Regions from separate parts of the Homo sapiens genome. Here regions 2, 3 and 4 are each linked to region 1. Evidence: promoter capture Hi-C in 16 types of primary human blood cells and fetal thymus (Javierre and others, 2016). All regions are on one chromosome and are shown on one strand. The core of a region is centred on a gene start or on the middle of the fragment in contact, and the rest is flanking DNA. Distances in the headings are between cores, read along the strand shown.

The links. Contacts are between HindIII fragments. The CHiCAGO score rates a contact against its expected background, and 5 or more counts as called.
Region 2: a fragment that was not itself captured here is called in contact with the fragment with the promoter of C5orf67 in region 1 in 3 of 17 cell types (total B cells, naive B cells and neutrophils); the score reaches 10.6 in total B cells.
Region 3: a contact is called between a fragment that was not itself captured here and the fragment with the promoter of C5orf67 in region 1, in 2 of 17 cell types (total B cells and naive B cells). The highest score is 8.4, in total B cells.
Region 4: a fragment that was not itself captured here is called in contact with the fragment with the promoter of C5orf67 in region 1 in 3 of 17 cell types (total B cells, naive B cells and neutrophils); the score reaches 6.7 in total B cells.

What each region holds. Positions count from the first base shown.
Region 1 is chr5:56,604,826-56,607,581 of GRCh38, reverse strand. C5orf67 (chromosome 5 putative open reading frame 67) reads left to right here and starts at 1,326. Exons shown (of 6, transcript NR_161255.1): 1 at 1,326-1,560. The HindIII fragment of the contact is 384 bases long and covers 1,284-1,667 here.
Region 2 is chr5:56,448,423-56,451,178 of GRCh38, reverse strand. No RefSeq gene overlaps it. Among named protein-coding and RNA genes, the nearest start is that of LINC01948, 32 kb to the left of the region's middle. The HindIII fragment of the contact is 2,225 bases long and covers 255-2,479 here.
Region 3 is chr5:56,746,469-56,749,224 of GRCh38, reverse strand. No RefSeq gene overlaps it. Among named protein-coding and RNA genes, the nearest start is that of MAP3K1, 68 kb to the left of the region's middle. The HindIII fragment of the contact is 401 bases long and covers 1,234-1,634 here.
Region 4 is chr5:56,465,338-56,468,093 of GRCh38, reverse strand. LINC01948 (long intergenic non-protein coding RNA 1948) reads left to right here. Exons shown (of 5, transcript NR_104664.1): 2 at 282-382. Among named protein-coding and RNA genes, the nearest start is that of LINC01948, 15 kb to the left of the region's middle. The HindIII fragment of the contact is 6,555 bases long and covers 1-2,756 here.

The DNA of each region.
Region 1 (2,756 bases), core at 77-2,576:
TGAGAACTTCACAAAGACTGTTAATTAATTGCTCATTTCGACAAATGAGAACAGATTTCAAATGCATAGTTGAACGTGGAGCAGGAAGAACATCTTGCTCTTGTGACTTGGTTTTAAACGTTGCATCTAGAAGATGGGGTGATACTGAAAGATGTCACTTATTTCCTTTTGTGAATTGAGATAAAATGGTTCTAATTCTTTCACTGCTTTCTGGCTTTAGGGCCCTGCGAAAGAATGTTTATTCTTTTGCTCTTGGTGGGAATTGGATGTCTGTCGATTTAGCATATGTTTAAAATATTTTAGCTTTGGAAAACTGCCCTGATAGCCTTCTCCCTCTAGTCAAAATTAATCTCATCTTCCCGCAGCTCTCACAGCCAGTGATTCATGGCTCTAATACAGCCCTTCTCATATTCTTCTTTATTCTATAAAGACTTACTTTTCTATAAAGACTTTTATTTCTGTTTGTCTCTTACATCAAATTGAAAGTTCTGTGTGGAGAAGAACTCTGTCTTACACATCTTTGTGATTACCTGAGTCTAGTCTGGTACATTATATTTGGCAGCATTCAGTACGTATTACATTGAATCTGGAAGATCACACAGAGAGGGGGATTCTGAGGGGTGGCAACAACCACTTTTGTAGCAGACGCTGTTGGTGTCCAACCCATGTCCCCTTGGCCACCCCAGAGTTTGGCTGTAGTCACATGCTGTGTAGACAGACAACCTCCTGCTTCTCTCTGCCTGAGGGCATTCTTCAGCCATAGAAATGAGCTTGGAAGCGGCTGGGTATGGTGGCTCACACCTGTAATCCCAGCACTTTGGGAGGCCGAGGCAGGCGGATCACAAGGTCAGGAGTTCAAGACCAGCCTGGCCAATATAGTGAAACCCCATCTCTACTAAAAACACAACAAATTAGCTGGGTGTGGTGGCGGGCACCTGTTATCCCAGCTACTCAGGAGGCTGAGGCAGAAGAATCACTTGAACCCAGGAGGCAGAGGTTGCAGTGAGCCGAGATCGCACCATTGCACTCCAACGTGGGCAACAGTGCAAGACTCCATCTCAAAAAAAAAAAAAGACAAAAGGAAAAAAGAAAAAAGAAATGAGCTTGGAAGCACACAGGTTAGTCTGCAAGTGCCAGGGAATTATTGCCCAAGGAATGACCCTTGGCCAAAGAGGGAAAGTCCTGGCTGGATAAATAATCCAAAGTCCTTGCCCTCATTCCAAGGAATGTTCTGCAGTCTCCTAAGGGTTTCCTGCTAGAGGAAGCCCTGATTGCCCAAAGCTTCTTAACACATTCTTTATTAGCTTTCCTCTCTTCCCTGTTTCATATTCCCTGTGCTCCCCTGGGATCAACAGCCAAATGAACAACTTCACCTGAGCCCTTACCTCCAAGGAAGTGCCACAGGGGAACCCAAAGGCCCTTAATCATTAAAAAAAACTTTAGAGATGCTGGCTGAGCCATCAGTGAGAACATGGATGCATACACAGAACCTACATCTTGTCATCTCTGCTCTTCGAGGAATGGAGCTGGAGAGGCAGAGAAGCAATGAAGCCGAATTCTGTGAGTGGGACTTCTGCGCAGCGGGGGAGGGAATTTCTACTTCTGGCCAGGAAATAGAGCTGGTGCCTTGTAGAAAGGCTCGAGGTAATGCAGTCAAAGGGCAAGCTTAGAGCAGTATGTGAAGGAATCCACCAAGGATTAGAACCAGCCAAGGGTCAGACAAACCAAATGAGACCAGAAGAGGAAAGTGGTGTCTTGGCAGAAAGGGCTTCCAGACCCATAGTCACAGGAATCTTCAGGAGAGGGGTGAAGAAGAAGGCATGGATCGCCAGGCCCAGGAGAGTCTAAAGCTGGTTTGGTGGGGAAGAATTTGGCCACATCTGTGCAGGATCCTAGAGAGTGGGGCAGAGGAGCTGGGCATCTGCTGTCAATGAGGCCAATTAAGAACAGTCTCAGGCTTGGGTCTCAAGCCTCAGGGATCTAGAACTTATCTGGTTTTAGCTGCTCTATATTCATTTCTTAGGAAGAGAGAGAGAGAGAGTATGTGTGTGTGTGTCTGTGTCTGTGTATATGTGTGAAATTTCTCTCAACTGAAACACAGGGCAGAACACTAGATGAAACTAGTGCTGTACTTTTCTGCTTATCTGTCGACACAGTCTTAGTGCGCAAAGTCTTGGTCTTAGTGGCTGGGTGTGGCAGTTTCCCAGAGGTGGGGGGCAGTAATAAAGAGAGAGAAAGGGAGACCTGATAGAAGATGGAGACCAGATAGAAGGCATCTGCTACGTGCATAGGTGCCCCTTTCTGAACAAGCTGTTTTTTGGTTACGAGATCCATTCCTGAAATCGATTTTAAGATATTCTGTGTTGGGTGATGTCACAGAAGCACTACTGGTGCACGGATTTGAAAAATAGTGGCTCATCCCGCCTCAGGGTTTGACAGCTTGGTAACTTGCAGTGAGGTTTCTTTTAACAATGAAACCAAGTCCTTTGAAAGACAAAAAAAGAACAAAACATCCACTAATTTTTGCGTGCAGGAGTAAGACAACAGTATTGGGAGATCTCAGCTATAAATGTGCCAGCTCTGGGAACTTTGGTTAAGTCATTTCACCATTCGCCTGTTTCCTCACCTATAACCAAGGAGGCAGCCAAGCCATCCCTAGTATTTCCTGGAATTCTGAGATCCTAAGTCAGATTGTTGAGTCTGGAGAGGCTGGATTCAGTGATTGACTAGGAGGGGCCTGTTTGTGTGGCTGTGTT
Region 2 (2,756 bases), core at 118-2,617, 160 kb after region 1:
TAAAGAAGACATAACAATACCTTGCTACCTTACCAGGGTGTTGTGTGAATTTGCTGACACCCATAAAGCTCCCTGAAAATGAAGAAGCTTACATAAGTCCCTGGTATTATTCACACAGCAAACGTTTTCCCCTGAGAATAAAGTAATAAATGGTACCATTGTGCAGCTGGTGGAACGTGTTCAAAAGTTTCCGTTCACAACTAGTAGATCAAGTTGTGGGTGGCTGTATGGACTTTCTGTGCTCATGCCAAGCTTCATCCAAAACAGCCAGCACGACAGGCTATCTCGGAATGAAAAGCTGTACTGTAAGAGACGGCCAGATCATGGCATCGTATCACACAGGACAATCACGTGTAGCCAGAGACTACATAGGCACTTTTCCTCACAGCAGGAAAGGAACAATGGCAGAAACATTGGCCATATGGATTTCTAACATGGCAGCCTTTGAGAAGCAACTACCTTCTTCCAGCACGTTGACATACTTCCCAAGGCTAAAGATGCTCATGATTGTGAAGAATTATAGCTTTCTCTCTGCATTCATGGAGAAAAGCAGAGTTCTAAATCAGATAGAGTGTTCAGGTGAAAATCTATTCTCTTTAAATACAATTCATCTGGGTGGGAGTGTGTGGGAATTGTTTGGACAGAATGCTACTGGCTGGCATAGGATACAGGAGAGCATTTCTTTCTCACCATTATAAGCCCTGGAAATACCCCAGCACATGATATAGGGAAAATGTCTTTTCTCTTTTAGCAAGGTTTGGGACTCCCAGCCTTTGGATGTCACATCGAGAAGATGACAGATATTTTTAATTGAATGAGAGGAAGATTAGCTACTGAAGATTTTTTAAATGATCATGTTTGATTAGAGTTACTTGGGAATTAGACTAATAAGCTCACAGCTGGTCAGAGGGGATCAAGGTACTCCTTCAGTGGTAAATATTCTCATATTAAAAAGCTGAGGCAGGATTACACAATCATGGAATTTTTGAGCTGCCATTGATTTACCTGGATATTAAACTATTTGGTAACTTTGCAAATTCCATGGACGTGCTAACATTTTTTCCCTCTTTCTTTCCAGTGGCAACAATGGGCAAAACCTTGAAGAAAGTTAATGAGCTTAAGACAGCAAAAGTGGAAAAAAAAATCTCTCTAGGTGTTTAATATTTGAAGCTGGTAAAATCTTTAGACTGTAACGCAAAGGCTATGAAGAAGTATTGTACCACCCACAGGGTGCCTCAGGCTCCCTCTCCCCTCTCGCTTCCACATGCCTGTCACATTCTATTTTCAGGGAATCTTTCATTCATTCTTTCAGTGCCTATTTATTTGGCACCTGCTATGGTACTAGGCAGTGTGCTACGTGCTAGAGGTACAAACAGATGAAATACACAGTCACTATCCTCATGGTGCCCCTCACCTAGTGAAGAATGTGGTGACAAGCATCATGATGGAATCGAGGTCAGAGCCAAAATAACTGAAGAGAATTTCCTGGTGATGCCTTGCTTCAGGCCCTAATATCCAGGGTCCAGGCACCTTTTCTTCCTGGAATGGCTTCTGCTACATGTGTCAGGAGAACCACGGCCTGGGAGAGAATCACATGGTTGCTTCTAGGTTCAAATGAGCTGCAGTCACTTCCCCAGAGGATGTAGAGCAGCATAAGCCTGCTGGGCAGAGGGGGGGTCCAGGTCCCACTCTCTTGTATCCGGGGAAGCACACAAAGGGTCTGGAGGACACTGCATGAATGTTTCTGCGTGACTGGACCCATCTGCAGGCAATTTAACAGTTGCCAAAGTTTCTTCATCAGTGTGCAGTCTGGAGCACCCAAAGACTGGGCAGGGCTGATCTGCGGTGACCAAGTTCAGAGGCACAGGAAGGCACAGTTTGCCTGAACAATGCTGAGCGTGCTTGCAAGCCTGAGAGATGCAATTATTTGAACGCTATTATATGCTGGCCTTCCGGTGAGCTTCAAGGGAGCAGACACTAAGGTCTCTGTTGCACTCTCTGAGCCTCAGGCCACAGGCTGCCTGTGCCTTTCATGTTCCTTCAGTGGCCAAGGGCAGGTCATCTGGGAAATGAAGGGATGTGAGGCAGAGATGATTCTAGGAGAGGGTGGTGCATTTCCCATTTTGTTCCCAAAGTTTGGGTTCTTCCTTTAGCAGTTTCACAGTAGACCCAGTTAGTGATACCATGTCCAGCCCTTCTCTTCTTATCGATCTTGCTCAGGGCAGCAATGTGCCCAGTTACCTACTTGCTTTCCTAGTTTCTCTCACTGCTGCTGGTAGCTTGTGCCATAACCCAAGCCAAATAGATATAAACTAAAGTCAGCTTGGGACTCCTGAGAAAGTTTTGCTTATGTGATAAAGAGGGCCCATGTGTCTGGCACTACTCTTCCCCAATTTCTTTTTGCCTTGGACATGGACATGATGTCTGGAAAGCAGCAGCCATCATGTAGCCATGAGGCAACAAAGATGAAGACAAAGCTTAGACTGGAAGGGAGGTAAAGTAGAAAGAGCCATTCATTTATTTATTCAACTAGTATTTATTGAGTGTCTGTTATGTGCCAGGCACTGTTCTAGTTGCTAGAGACACAGCAGTGAAAAAAGCACACAAAATCCCTGCCTCCTTGGTGTTTATTTTTAGTGGTAACAGGAGAGAAAGACAATATATAACATCTGAGAAATAAAGGCTATAATATGTCACATGGTGATAAGTATTATGGAAAAAAGAAAAGTAGGTATTCACCCTGGGCAGGGCATTAG
Region 3 (2,756 bases), core at 185-2,684, 140 kb before region 1:
CTCCCACAGTCCCAGGTGCTTATTATTCTAAATATCAAAGACAGACAATGAAAAAAAAATGGTTGCTGAAATTTGCTAAGAGTCCTGGAGCTTCTACTAAGGGACCTTATCAGTCAGAATGGGTGGGACTCCCGCTCTTTCACTGTCTGGTTCTAACTCTATGTTCCATCAAGTCTCAGCGAGGTGCCTCCTGAGGTCTAGGGCCCATAGAATGATTTGCAAGCTCATATGAAACTGCCTCCCTTTATGGATTCTCAAAATGACTGGAAAGGGGTGCACACTTCAGAGGGAGCAGCCAGACACCCTATGGGAGTATTAAAGGACTGGGAAACTGTAAGAACTTTTGAATATATTAATTTTTATCTTTTTTGTTTTACCATTTTAAGTCTTTATACTTTATAGAAATTCAGTTAAGTATTAAAATGTTTAGAATCAAAGGCATGAATTTGAGTCATAGCATAAATATCTGTTGGTAAATGAATCTCTTTTGGTAAGTTATTTACTCTTCTTGAGCTTGTTTGTTACTAAAATGGGGATAATAATACCTATCCAAATTGTTTGAGAGCAAATAAGACAATGTAACAATATCTTCAACATAATAAGCTTCAACAATGTCATACACATTATAATTATTATTATCTTCCCACCTCTATTTTAGGATTCCATGAGGTGGAGACAGGGCCATATTCATTTTTATATCTCCCACAGTGGTGAGCACAATGTCATGATCATTATAGGCACTGAATAAATGTTGGTTAAGATAATTTAAGATAGCTTTAGTAGTACTTTGATTTCTTTAGTGAAAACACCCTGTACAAATTCAAGACATAATAAGAATTACATGCACTTTAGATCATACTTTTGATTTTTCTATCAATAGTGTTTTGGGAGTTGGCAGAGCAGTGTTGGATTCTTATCAAGTCAACTCTGCTTGCTGAGGACTCTTTGTGAGTCTGTGGAAAGCTTAATGCAAGATGGTAAGCTGGGGCTGGGGATTAGTGGAGTGAAACCAATGAGATGTCAGCCATACATCTGAAATCTTGACCTCATTATCACAATGCTGTGATGAGGTGCTCAACAGTTGTCAATAATTCAAATATACATAATGAGGTAAACACCTGGGCAAGAGATGGAGGGTTCAGTAACAATGATGGCAGTAAGCAATGGCAGAAATATCAGTGTTCCAATAAAACATTTTACCCAATAGAAATGTTCTCTGCACTACAAGAAGCTTCTTAATATCATTTATACCTTTAATTGAATTAGGACTTAAGAACATTGGGGCTTGGGCTATGGTTCCGTCAGAATATATTTAGTACTGTAAATCAGGAGCCAAGAGAAACTCTTCTTACAGAACAAAGACAGGGAAAAGGCAACTGAGGTCACAGACCAATTCAAAATAGCAATTTTTTTCTATAAGTATTAAATTAGAGAACACTTTCTATAATACTCATATAGATTCAACAATCAAATTGAAAGAAATTAAAAGCTCTTCTTCCAAGCATTTATTAAAGGTGGTATCTACAGACCGCTGTGTAGGATAGGATGAGTCAACTAATACTCAATATTTATAAGAAGAACACAGTGCATATTTAGAATATATTCCTGTAACTAAAAGGCACCATGGAAAAGCTTTCCTGGTAAACTTTCACTTATTTTCTTTCTAGTTGCTGACTGATAATTTATTCATCATTCACTGTCACGATCACTCCTTAACTAACATCCCAGATGTTATCAGCAATAAGACTGAAAAAATTAGACTAATTTTTATTTTTGGGGGCTGTAGTGGGAGGTGGTGGTAGATAGGAAGGTAGGATATGAGCCTGGGTCCTCAAATTCCCCAGAATCGCTGGCCTAGGAAAAAACACATTGGGCAGAGAGTATTCAACTTTTACATTCGTCCACTGATTTAAGCCGTCACCTAAACCTTGGGTGCCTCAATTTCTTCATCTATAAAGTGGAATTACTTACAAATGTTAATAATATTACATTACAGATAAAATCATGTAGGGTATGCAGAAGAACTTTTTCACAGAGTCCCTTAAGTATTTTCTATACACAACACAAAAGACTTTGGATGACCCCTACTCCAGCTGTTGCTTCTTGTTACCAAAATAGCAACAAAGATCTCATCAGAATCAATGGAAAGAGAGATGCCACTTCTCAATAATAGGAGTTGTTAAAAATATAAAATAAGTGATTCACACCAAAAATAAAAATTGTAAGGTTGTACTCTGAACATGAATTCTTGGAGCCAAATTATGAGATGTTTATTGGAGATCTGGGAGTCCAATTTTGGGATGGAAAGGGACGAGCTGCTAATTAGTGCCTCTCTTGTAACCTCATGGTCAGTATGGGACTGGGGCATGGAGGTATGTGCTGAAAGGGATCTGGGGGAAAGAGAAAGATGCTGACAAAGAAGTCCTGCCAACTAAGCCACAGAGACAGGGAGGGGCCTTCAGTGGCCTCTGGCATAACAATGTCCTCATTGGAAATACCCAACTCACAGATGCCAACAACCTCTGCTCAAGCTCCCTCTTGCCTCAGGCCACCTAAAATGCCAGATATCAGGCCCTTCTTTCCTCCCAGTGGCTCCTGGCATTTCTAATGCCTGCCAGGTGTAGGGATTGGGCACTGGCTCCGAATCAACTAAGTCAGGTCTGTCATGGAAACTTCCTGGGTCCTTCCAATTATATCTGCCTGAGCTCCTGCTGCAGCTCCCCTCTCCTCACACTGATGGTTAGTATCATCTACCA
Region 4 (2,756 bases), core at 163-2,662, 140 kb after region 1:
CCTGGAGATTGGACAAGCAGTTTTCTAAGGTTTTTCTCTTGACATTCAGTTTAGGCAACTGACAATGCTACGTAAGCCGATTTTTAGCTCCTCACTTCATATCGCCTGGTTTTACCCACATTCCGCTATCAAATGGTTCCTGGCCCCATAAAAATAATCAAGAAAGCTCATGTTGGTGGCTTTTGCCATAGGAGTCTGATTTTTGATGCCATTATTTTTCATGCATATAAAACTAATATTTTAAGTCTTCTGTGCTTTGTTCTGTTCTTTTGGTCTGGAAGAACGTGCTTCAGAGTTGCACTTAGCCTAGAACATGGCCTGACCTCTATGGTATGAATAAATGAGCTCCATGAAGACAATAAGATCTCCTGAAATTATACAGGTATGTGCATACATATACATATATGTGTGTCTATGTATGTGTAGATATATGTGTGTAATATTATATTTAAATAATCTACTTTTTCAAAAGTTCCCTTAAGCTACTCCATGTGATTTTATGATAATTTTGTTTGGTTATATTCTATTTATCTTCATTGCTTTCTGACTTCATTGCCATTCTGTCCATATTGCTGCTCAAAGCAGAATTTTAAGAACACCTCGAGGTGTTTTTAAATTAAGCCAGTAAACAGCTTTAGCCAACACCTCCATGGCACAGTGACAAAAGCCAACACAAACAGGGAGCGGGAGGTTTGCTGACAGCTCTGTGCACTGAGACCTCAGGACTGGTTTGGTGAGGCAGGCTCAAGCAGTGACTCGTGGGGGAGCCAAAGAAGACTCAATCATGTTGTCTCTTGTATCAGCTCCCTCCACAAGGAACGGAAATCTACAAGAGGCTGAGTCCTCCTTTAATCAAAGCAAGAGAAGAAGCACTCAGGACGGGGTGGGATGCATGTCTTCAGACACTGACTCAGCCCCTCCTGTATAAGGTCTCACTGCTGCAGCAGGGCTGGGTCCACATATCTCCTTCTGTGTTTGGTGTCCCAGAGCCGTGCTTAGAACTCCAACATTACCCTGTGTGTTCATGGTGATGACGAGATTCCCAAGCACAGTGACTTAAATAAGAGAACTGTACTTCCTTCTATATAAGCTCAGGTGTACTGTCCAGGGGTGGCTGGTACCCTATGTTGTTGGGGATCCTGCTCATGTAAAGTACCTAGCACCAACAAATGCTCTTCAGTTATCATAAGCCTTAAAAACCTAGGAGAGTTTGCGGGAAAACAAGGAAAGAGAGAAGATAAAAGCATGCGTTGCGGAGGGCATTGCCAATGTGCTGTAACACATATGCTAAGGCTCCATAGAGCCTGTGAGCCTGGGCAAGTGACTTAACCTCTCTGTGCCACATCTATAAAATGGTGATAACAAGACCTATCTTGTAGGCTTGTTGTGAGCATCTCACACGTTAACACATGCAAAGTGCTTACAGCAGTGCCCAGACCACATTCAGAACCTAATAGCAGGCCCTGTTGGTGCCCTACCAGTACCTGTGGCTACTTCCCATTTTGTGCACTCCAGATGGCCTTGTACTGTAAGAATTTGTGAGTCTGCCTCTAGGCTCCCCCTGGCCTCCTGAGAGTGTGCTCTGCATATGCAGGCTTGGCCATAAGGGCTGAAAAGGCAATCGACAGCAAGCAGCCCTCAACCAGGATGGGATTTGGTGTGTAAATACCTCGGCTTTCTCATCCCTTGGGTGAGACAACTTGGCAGCATGTTCTGAATCGCCACACAGAGGTCTCCAGGGTGACTGAGCCCCAAGTGTCCGCATTCATAACCTGTCCCTGTCATATCCTGTCTGCTTCCCTGTCGTCCTTGGTTCATTTCTGCACTCTCCTGGTCTTACTGGGATTACTCCCCAAATTAACTTCCTGTATTCAGGACCAACTTCTGGGAAACCCAAACTAAGACACTCTTCTCCTTACTACACACTCCTTTCTGAACATATTGGCCTTAGTGTGCGTTCTGAATGATCCTGCCAGAACCTCACTCTCCCCTTTTCATGCACCTCCTCCTCCTGATATTCCTCTTCTCACTTTTGCAATCACGTATGCACCAGGATGAATCAGATGCAGACTTCTGTGCCCTTCATAAACCAATCTTCCAAGCATACATGCACACTGATACATACATGTACTGATACATTCCAAGCATACATGCACACTGATACATACAGAGAAACCCATGGAATCCAGGCCCAAAGGAAATGGAATGTGTAGCAAAGAATATACATTGTCTCTGGGCTTGCTCTCTCGCCTAACTTCCTTCAGGCTTGTTCTGATTTCCCCTGGGGCCTGCACATATGGTGTATTGCTTAGATTTGTGCCTGGGTTCGGACTGCACATTAAATCAGAGACGTGGGGTAGAATCAGGTCCACAGCTCTATATCCTGTTGTGATGGATAAGCGTTCTCTTTCCATTTCCTCCCCTGGGCAGGGAGATGATGGAAGTGTTTTGCATGAAGACAGGAAATATCTTCAGTACGGCTTTGTGAGCTAGATGGAATTATCCTAAAAGAGCAGGTCCACTGGGTGAGGAGAGATGTGTGGGCTGAGTTTTCAACTGAATGATTAAACAATAGTGCTTGCTGTGGCCACACCCTGCTAGTTTACACAATGGAAAAAAACAACTTGACAAAATAAAATCCATGTCGTCGTCTTTAAAATGTGCTATCATTTCCTTGTTATAGTTGTGCAAGATTCAGTACCGAGAAGCAGATAGTTCTTCCTTTGCCAATATGGGAAACATACTGCAAACATATT